Regions from separate parts of the Homo sapiens genome. Here regions 1 and 3 are each linked to region 2. The links are contacts of gene promoters, found by promoter capture Hi-C in blood cells and fetal thymus (Javierre and others, 2016). All regions are on one chromosome and are shown on one strand. The core of a region is centred on a gene start or on the middle of the fragment in contact, and the rest is flanking DNA. Distances in the headings are between cores, read along the strand shown. Region 1 has its middle 3.8 kb from the start of YARS2. Region 2 holds the start of SYT10 (synaptotagmin 10). Region 3 has its middle 30 kb from the start of ALG10.

Region 1 (2,700 bases), core at 64-2,563, 680 kb after region 2:
CGGGTTCAAGCGACTCTCCCGCCTCAGCCTCCTGAGTAGATGGGACTACAGGCGTGTGCCACCACACCTGGCTAATTTTTGTATTTTTGGAAGAGACGGGTTTTCACTATGTTGGCCAGGCTGGTCTCGAACTCCTGACCTCGTGATCTGCCCACCTCGGCCTCCCAAAGTGCTGGGATTACAGGCGTGAGCCACCGCACCCGGCCTGGAAAATGAAAGATTTTTAAACCCATAAATATCTCAAAACATTATCCAGCCATATGGTATGGGACCAGGTGCATAAAGTTAAGGCAATGCTGAGACCTCCAGGTTATTCCACTGGCTACAACAGCAGCCTAAAAGAAAGAAAGAAAGAAACTTGGGGTATCCTTCTCTAAACTCTAATATAGAAAGGAAATGCATATCTAGTAACATGTTTCTTTGTCTAATTATCCTCCTACAATCAGCATCTTAAAATAAGCTAATCTCTTATAAAAAATTTTTGGATGTTAATATGACCATCAGCTCAAAAAGCATTAAAGCCACTTCAATCAAGGGACACAGACTAGGTTTCAAGACACTTAGCTCACATAAATTTCTATAAATTTTAATAGAACTTAATGGTCTTTCCATTTTTTTGTGTGGGAAGGGTAAGCATTATTGATTTTACATTTTAATACATTTTAGGGGCATGATGAACCTGGACAGTAAAAGCATCCTTCCTTCGCCCTACCTAATGCAGAGGAGCTTCCTGAAAGAAATTAGTTTGGAATGAAAGGGGAGCAACTGCCTTGCAGGTAAGGATGGGCAGAGTGGGAGGATCTTTAGGACTTTAGATGTAGGTTTCAAGAAAAACAGCAACATGAAAGTCATGTGTGAGAAGATGTAATTATGAGGCAGATTGAGTTATAAATTATTATACAAAGACAACAAAGACATGAAATCAATCTTTAGAAATGATTCTTCCCAAGTAATAGGAGATAGGAATGTCATGGAAATACTTCAACTGGAAGAAAAGCCATGGAAATACTTCAACTGGAAGAAAAGCCATGGCCTTTCTGCAATAACCTACAATTTCTTTTTCTTTTCTTTCTTTTTTTTTTTTTTGAGATGTTGTCTCACTCTGTTGCCCAGGCTGGAGTGCAGTGGTGCTATGTCGGCTCACTGCAACCTCCGCCTCCCAGGTTTAAGTGATTCTCCTGCCTCAGCCTCCTGAGTAGCTGGGATTACAGACGCCCGCCACCACGTCTGGCTAATTTTTGTATTTTTGGTTGAGACGGGAGTTTCACCATGTTTGTCAGGCTGGTCTCAAACTCCTGACCTCAGGTGATCTGCCCGCCTCAGCCTCCCAAAGTGCTGGGATTACAAGCGTGAGCCACCATGCCCGGCCGTAACCGGGCATGGTTACGTAGGTTTACAATTATAGGTTTACAATTTCTATTTCTTGTTCCTATCCACTCCCTTTTGCATCTGATGTCACCAATAATCTTCTCCAAGGAAAAAAAAACAGAAAACACAAATAAGAATTATATTTTATAGTGATTATAATGATCAGAATTCCTCAGACTTCTTTCTGCTGTCATTTTGCTGTGATGTTCGAGCAGCTCATATTTCAGCCCTAATCAGATCTCTGCTGTAATCTGAATATATATTTAATACAATGCTAGAGATAGAGAAATTTTCAAAGTTAAGTAGAGATCAGTTAAAATACCATTACTGTTTACTCTGTGTCTTTTGAATTCTATTATATTTATATTTGTTTACATTTTGAAAACCAAGCCATTTAAAACAGGGATCCCTTCAAAGAGAACATTTATGTGGCATTTTGTTGCAGGAAAAGGTAACTGTAAAACACATGTGCCTCTAATTCAAGGCCAGTTAACCTCAAGTTATTACAGTTGAGATAAATCATATTTTTAAAAATACTTTTTAACCCTTGTTCACTCACTTTTTAAGCCAATAAAAACAGCAAGAATTAACTTGGTCACTTTTTTGTAACCCAAATGCAAACCATGGGTGCAATCCCATAAAATTTTAGCCACGGATATAATTCCAAAGGTTTGAAAGTCCCATCTTCTTTATTGCTCCTGTCTTTGGGACAAAGCCCAATTTCCCCTATAATACCAACACAAATTATAAAAAGAGAGTAATTGATCTCACTGTATTTTCCAAACTTGTTGCTTGTTACTGTCATTAAGCTACTGTCAAGTCTCATCTAGCACCTCCTGTGACACCACCTTCTTTTTTTTTTTTTTTTTTTGAGACGGAGTTTGGCTTTCGTTGCCCAGGCTGGAGTGCAATGGCATGATCTCGGCTCACTGCAACCTCCACCTCGTGGGTGCAAGCAATGCTCCTGCCTCAGCCTCCCAAGTAGCTGGGATTACAGGCATGCGCCACCATGCCCGGCTAATTTTGTATTTTTATTAGAGATGGGGTTTCTCCATGTTGGTCAGGCTGGTCTCAAACTCCCAACCTCAAGTGATCCGCTCACCTCAGCCTCCCAAAGTGCTGGGATTACAGGCGTGAGCCACCGCACCCGGCCCGACACCACCTTCTATATCAGACTTTGCTGCCTCTTCATGAGATGCAACTAAACTTAAGAGACAAAGCAGAGCTCAAATCTATTTTTAAAAGACTTTATAATAAATTGTAATCCCAGGTAGAAATTTTCTATTTCTCATTATCCACAAAATTCTTCTCCATTAAGCACAGGTCATCAAG
Region 2 (2,700 bases), core at 86-2,585:
AACCAATCGTCCTATGGATCAGGTCAAAATGATTCAACTAATGAATGCTTCCCTACTGGAGTGCTATGCCTAATATTTATACTAGGTTTACCATAGTCCTGTGCAAAGCAAATAATTTACCATGAACTGATTAGCTGTTTTTAAAAAAGACTACTTATTCTACTAGCATAGACACGCTAACAAGTTCAATGTATCCCACTTCAAAAATAAAGAATCCCTCATCACAAGAGGGTTAAATCAATCCTCAGGTTATGATATGGGATCAAACTCTGCCCGAAAACAGTTTAAAAACCATATAAACATATTATATCCTGAAGCCCATGTTTATTATTTTGTCGCTTTAGTTCTACTGATTTGCACCCATTTGCATTAAAGAATTATAAAAACAGGTGAGCTTAAGACATCCGAGTCCAAATCTCCCATTTTACAGACTCAGGCAAAGACCCGAAAGCAGGCCGGCCGTGGTGGCTAGTGCCAGCATTTTGGGAAGCTAAGGCGGTAGGATTGATTGAGCCCAGGAGTTCGAGACCAGCCAGGGCACCATAGTGAGATCCTTGTCTTTACAATAAGTTTAAAAAAAAAAAATAGCGCCTGGAGTCCCTGGAGTCCTAGCTACTAGGGAGGCTGAAGTAGGAGGATCGCCAAGACCTGAAAACAACTTCAAGGTTAGGCTGAGATGTGTGACAGATTTGAACTTAATCCTGTTCCCTTTAACACCCATGTCTTGTTTTAAGTCGCTAAGAAAGGAGATGGAGGGAGTCAAGTTGTGCATTCTCAATCGCCAATTACGGATTAATCGACAGAATCTTATCTGATTATTAGTACAAATAACATTTTATTTTGTGATCTACCTAAGAGGGTTTGCTTATTCACGCATTCTTTTTTCTAATTAACTTTTTCAGTTTTTCTTCGATTGGGATGACTTTTCCAGAAGGGCAGAAGCAGATAGCACAGAAAGTAGAATACATCCGTGGAAAAGTTGGAGAGACAAAGGCGGCGGGGATGGCTGCACTGATGCAGGGAAAAGTATTGGGAAAACGGAGAGGGCTCCTCGGGCCAACTCTGGGCAACGATGAGCATCCCCGGCCTCGGCAGGGGCGCCGGGCCGCCCGCCCTCCCTCCCTCCCTCCCTCGCGAGTCCCTTCTTCAGAGGACGCGGGGAGCCGGGTCTGCGCGCTCCGCCGCCTGTCACCTAGCGCCCGCGCCGGGCTGCGATTGGACGCGTCGCCGCCAGGCACCCGCCAGAAACACCAGTGCGCTGGGGAGAGGAGGGGGGCGTGCTTGCGAGTCGAGGGCTTGCTTTGGCTTTTTTACGGCTCCCCCCTCCCCTCAGCACTCCATGCCGGGTCTCTAGTTCCAGCGCGCCTCGGCTCGCTCGCGCGGCGGGAGAGTTGGCGCAAACCTCGCGGCAGCCGCAGCCTCCTCGCGCGCCTCTCCTTCCCCTACGCCCTCCGCTCCCGCCATGGGGCCAACGTGGGGCTCCTAAGAGTTGCCGGCTCTCAGCGGCGCAATCTCCAGCCAAAGTCACCGCGGGCGGACTATGGCTTAGGGCGCCAGAGGGGTTAGAGGTACGGGAAGAGGAAAAGACGGCTAACTGGGAAAAAAAGAGAAAACGAAAGAAAAGCCAAACGATGAGTTTCCACAAGGAGGACGGAGTGAACAGTCTGTGCCAGAAGGCTCTGCACATCGTCACCGAGCTGTGCTTCGCCGGCCAGGTGGAGTGGGAGAAGTGCTCGGGCATCTTCCCTCGGGACAGGGGCAGCCAGGGCGGAAGCAGCACAGGTAACCGGGAGGGCTCCGCTCGCGTCCTCGCGCTCCGCTGGGACCCCGCGCGCTAGGCTGCAAGCTCCGGGGTTCTGCGCCTCCCGCGCCGCTCCCGCGGCATATTTGGGGCGCCACGCTTTCCTACCTCGCTCCTTCCTTCGCTCAGCTCCTGACGACTTCGAGGGTGGGGCGTTTGGGTTTTGTTTCCTCCTGTCCACCTGCCGGGCTTCTCCCATTCTCTGGTCCGCTTCCCGCCTCCCGGCGCCGTCTCCCGCTCCCAGCCTCGCCGCGCCTCTCCGCGTTCTCCCACGCCTCCCATCTCCCTCCCGGAGTGGAGAAGTGAGTGCGGGCGGTGACGGCGCCGGGACGGCTCGCGGCTTGGCTGCTTGTGGGGGCGGCTCACCTGTGGGACTAGGGCTGCTCTCGCTCGTTCCACCGGCCGCTGGTCCCGGCCTTGTTGATGGGGGCCAGGCGGGACGGACAAGCCATGCTTGGACGCAGAACTCCCTTGCAGAGGTGGCTGCCTTGGCCTCCGAGGTAACCCGCGGCTGCAACCTGTCGGGCACCTGACAATTTCTAAAGCCCTTTTAATATATATGATTTTCTAGGGTTTCATGACAAAGTTGGTAAAACAAGGATTATTGATCCCATTTGTGAGGCGACACCTAAAGCTCAGAGCACATATCGAAGAAGTGGAAGAGAGGGGAGACGTTTAAAATCCCTAGCACACGCACGCTCTCAGACATCCAACTCACAGACGTCCTCCCTACCCTTCAGGAAACTAGGAAATGGGCTGGATGCAGGAGGATATCGACCGTCGGAAATCTGGAGATGGAAAAAAGTCTCAAGTGGATTTTCCTCAAGGCTTGGGGGTGGAAAGGATCGAATCCAAGCCACTGTTTGGGTCACGGTTGGGGAAAAGGTTGGTGTGTCCAG
Region 3 (2,700 bases), core at 98-2,597, 550 kb before region 2:
CCCTACCTAGGGGCCATTTCATTACCTCCTCCAATGTTCTGCTTGCCAAGAGTATGGCACATTGGGTTCTATTCCTTAGAAATGGAATAAATAGCTCTTATTTTTCTTAGGTGTTTGACTTTGGAATAGTGACTTTAATTTTGAGGTCCAAGGTCTTCATCCTTAAACTGTGTTATGAGGATCAAACATAAATATGTTGGAGAGAGTATGTAGCATAGGGTCTGAAAATTATAGCTGCTCAATAAAAGCCAGTTTCCTGCCCCTCCTTTTTTTCTGTTAATAGAGGTGTTTTAAATACCTTGGCAGTAAATAATTCCTGATCTTCTGCCTAATTATTTTCAGAAAGGAATTGAGTGACTTCTCTTCCCTAAGCTCATAGTGTAAGCTTACATTTCAAGGAACATCTGCTTCAAGGAGGAAAGATTTGGGTGGAATCACCGTGTACTGTGGAATAGTATTTCATTTTACACAATAGTAATAGAGGCCTTGCTGATTTTAATTGTGCCACTGGCTGTGTTATCTCAAGCAACCTCTCTGGCCCTCCTTTTCTGTAAAAATGGCTACTAGTTGATTATAAGTTTTTTGTACATATGAAATAATATCAATAGAGTTATGTTTAATTCCTAAGCTTCAAACCATTTTCCTGACTAGGCTCAGGAAGCTAGTGTGTCCCAGCATATCAATGGAATGTTTGCAATCACTAGAGCTAATTAGTAGTCAAGATATCTGGCAGAGCTTATTAACCCAGGCTCCTTGTGCTGCTTTCGCCAGTGAAGCTTGATTGGCTTGAGCCTTGGATGATGAACAAAGCTATTTTGTTCTGTGTTTTTGGCATTTTCTATTGCCTGTTTCAAATCCTATACAACAAATTGGTGGATCTCAAAATCCAGCACCTGGACCAGCAGTATTAGCGTTACCAGGGAATTTTTTTTTTTTTTAGAAATGAAAAAACTCAGGCTCCAACTTAGAGCTACTAAATCAAAAACCCTGTGGGTGGAGACCAGAAATCTAGTTCAAGAAGCCTCCAGGTGATTCTAATGAAGACTAAAGTTGAAGAACCATTGCTTGTTAGTCAAAATCACCAACATCAGTGTCACCTGAAGCTAGTTAGAAAATGTAGACTCTCAGGCTTACCCCAGACCTAATGAATTAGAATCTGTAGTTTAACAAGATACACAAGTGATTCATGTACACATTAAAGTATAAGAAAGACTGAGTGCAGTGGTTCACACCTGTAATCTCAGTGCAATGAGAGGCCAATGTGGGAGGACTGCATAAGCCCAAGAATTCAAGACCAGCCTGGGAAACATGGTAAGACCTCTATGGGAGGATTGCATAAGCCCAAGAATTCAAGACCAGCCTGGGAAACATGGTAAGACCTCTATCTCTACAAATAAAAAAAAATTTGGCCAAGCATGGTGGTGCACACCCATGGTCCCAGGTACTCAGGAGGCTAAGACAGGAGGATCAATTGAACTTGGGAGGCTAAGGCTGCAGTGAGCCATGATCATGCCACTGTACTCCATCCTGGGTGACAGAGTGGGATCCTGTCTCAAAGTTTAAGAAGCATGACTCTAGACAGAATTATCATTACATGTAGACAGATCCATTGTCTAATTAGAGGGTCTCTACATGCTTAAGGTTGTATTATATTTATTCCAAAATTATCCCTATATCTATCCATAGTTCCCACTTAAGCCCTTTTTAAAGGTGAGCCTTAGAAAATTCAATAAGGTACCTTTAGAAAAAGATCGCTAGCATTTTGGCTTTAAGCAATAAATGTTTGACAAATTATCCATCTTTATTAATAGAAATTTAGATCATTGTTTCATTCTCACTGCTATATATTCTCAACTGTATAGATATCTCACCAAAAACCCTCCCATACCGCAAGTAAAACCTGTTGATTTAAAGCTTTTTTCCTAATTAATTTGTCTAAAGATATTGTGTTAATATTTGTCCAAAAATATTTTATTTTTGTTACAATAAAATATTGTAAATAATATTTACAATATTTTAAATCATTGTAATGCATACATATTAATACATGCTACTTTATATATTTTAGGAATAATTAATTCCTTTTTATTTTTTCCTTGCATCTTAAATTTGTTAAAAGAGCTCTCATAACAGTTATGTATTAATTAAAAGTTTAAAAACTGCCAAACAAATACATTCATTTCTTTATGTGCATTGTTGCTTTATCATCTGCATTTGATGATTCTAGTTTTTCACATCTCTTTGGTTCTAATTCTTTCATTTTTGTTCTCCAGTTTCTTGTGTTCCCTATTATCGTTGAATATATGTTCAATATTGCATGTGAAAAATTGCAAGATTGATTTGTGATGTATTATGTAGACAGCTTCCTCCAAAGGAGATATCATTTGGTTCTGTCAAGCACCAGAGCACATTACTAGTCAGTAACTACTTAAACCAAGTTTAGGTTTTGAAATTCCCTGATCCAAGAAAGTTAAACCTGGGATCAAATTCCCCATGTAATAACTGCCTCACTTTCTGTTCTCCTTAACCTTGACGGCACAACCTTTAGGGAATCCCAGCTTGGAATAGAGATGCTCAAATCTAAATCTGCTAAAATATATCTTATGCTGGTTCTGAATTCTAAGTTACGTTGCTCTCACCTCACAAAATGGAGAAAACTAGGAGTCCAATTTTATGTTATCAGCAAATGCTCTCAGGGCA

The links. Contacts are between HindIII fragments. The CHiCAGO score rates a contact against its expected background, and 5 or more counts as called.
Region 1: a contact is called between a fragment that was not itself captured here and the fragment with the promoter of SYT10 in region 2, in 4 of 17 cell types (M0 macrophages, M2 macrophages, erythroblasts and 1 more). The highest score is 10.0, in M0 macrophages.
Region 3: a contact is called between a fragment that was not itself captured here and the fragment with the promoter of SYT10 in region 2, in 1 of 17 cell types (M1 macrophages). The highest score is 6.1, in M1 macrophages.

The regions. Positions count from the first base shown.
Region 1 is chr12:32,758,333-32,761,032 of GRCh38, reverse strand. No RefSeq gene overlaps it. Among named protein-coding and RNA genes, the nearest start is that of YARS2, 3.8 kb to the right of the region's middle. The HindIII fragment of the contact is 3,155 bases long and covers 1-2,700 here.
Region 2 is chr12:33,438,454-33,441,153 of GRCh38, reverse strand. It overlaps SYT10 (synaptotagmin 10), which reads left to right and starts at 1,335. Exons shown (of 7, transcript NM_198992.4): 1 at 1,335-1,782. The coding sequence starts at 1,632. RefSeq lists an enhancer at 1,608-2,424. The HindIII fragment of the contact is 7,804 bases long and covers 1-2,700 here.
Region 3 is chr12:33,991,179-33,993,878 of GRCh38, reverse strand. No RefSeq gene overlaps it. Among named protein-coding and RNA genes, the nearest start is that of ALG10, 30 kb to the left of the region's middle. The HindIII fragment of the contact is 1,138 bases long and covers 779-1,916 here.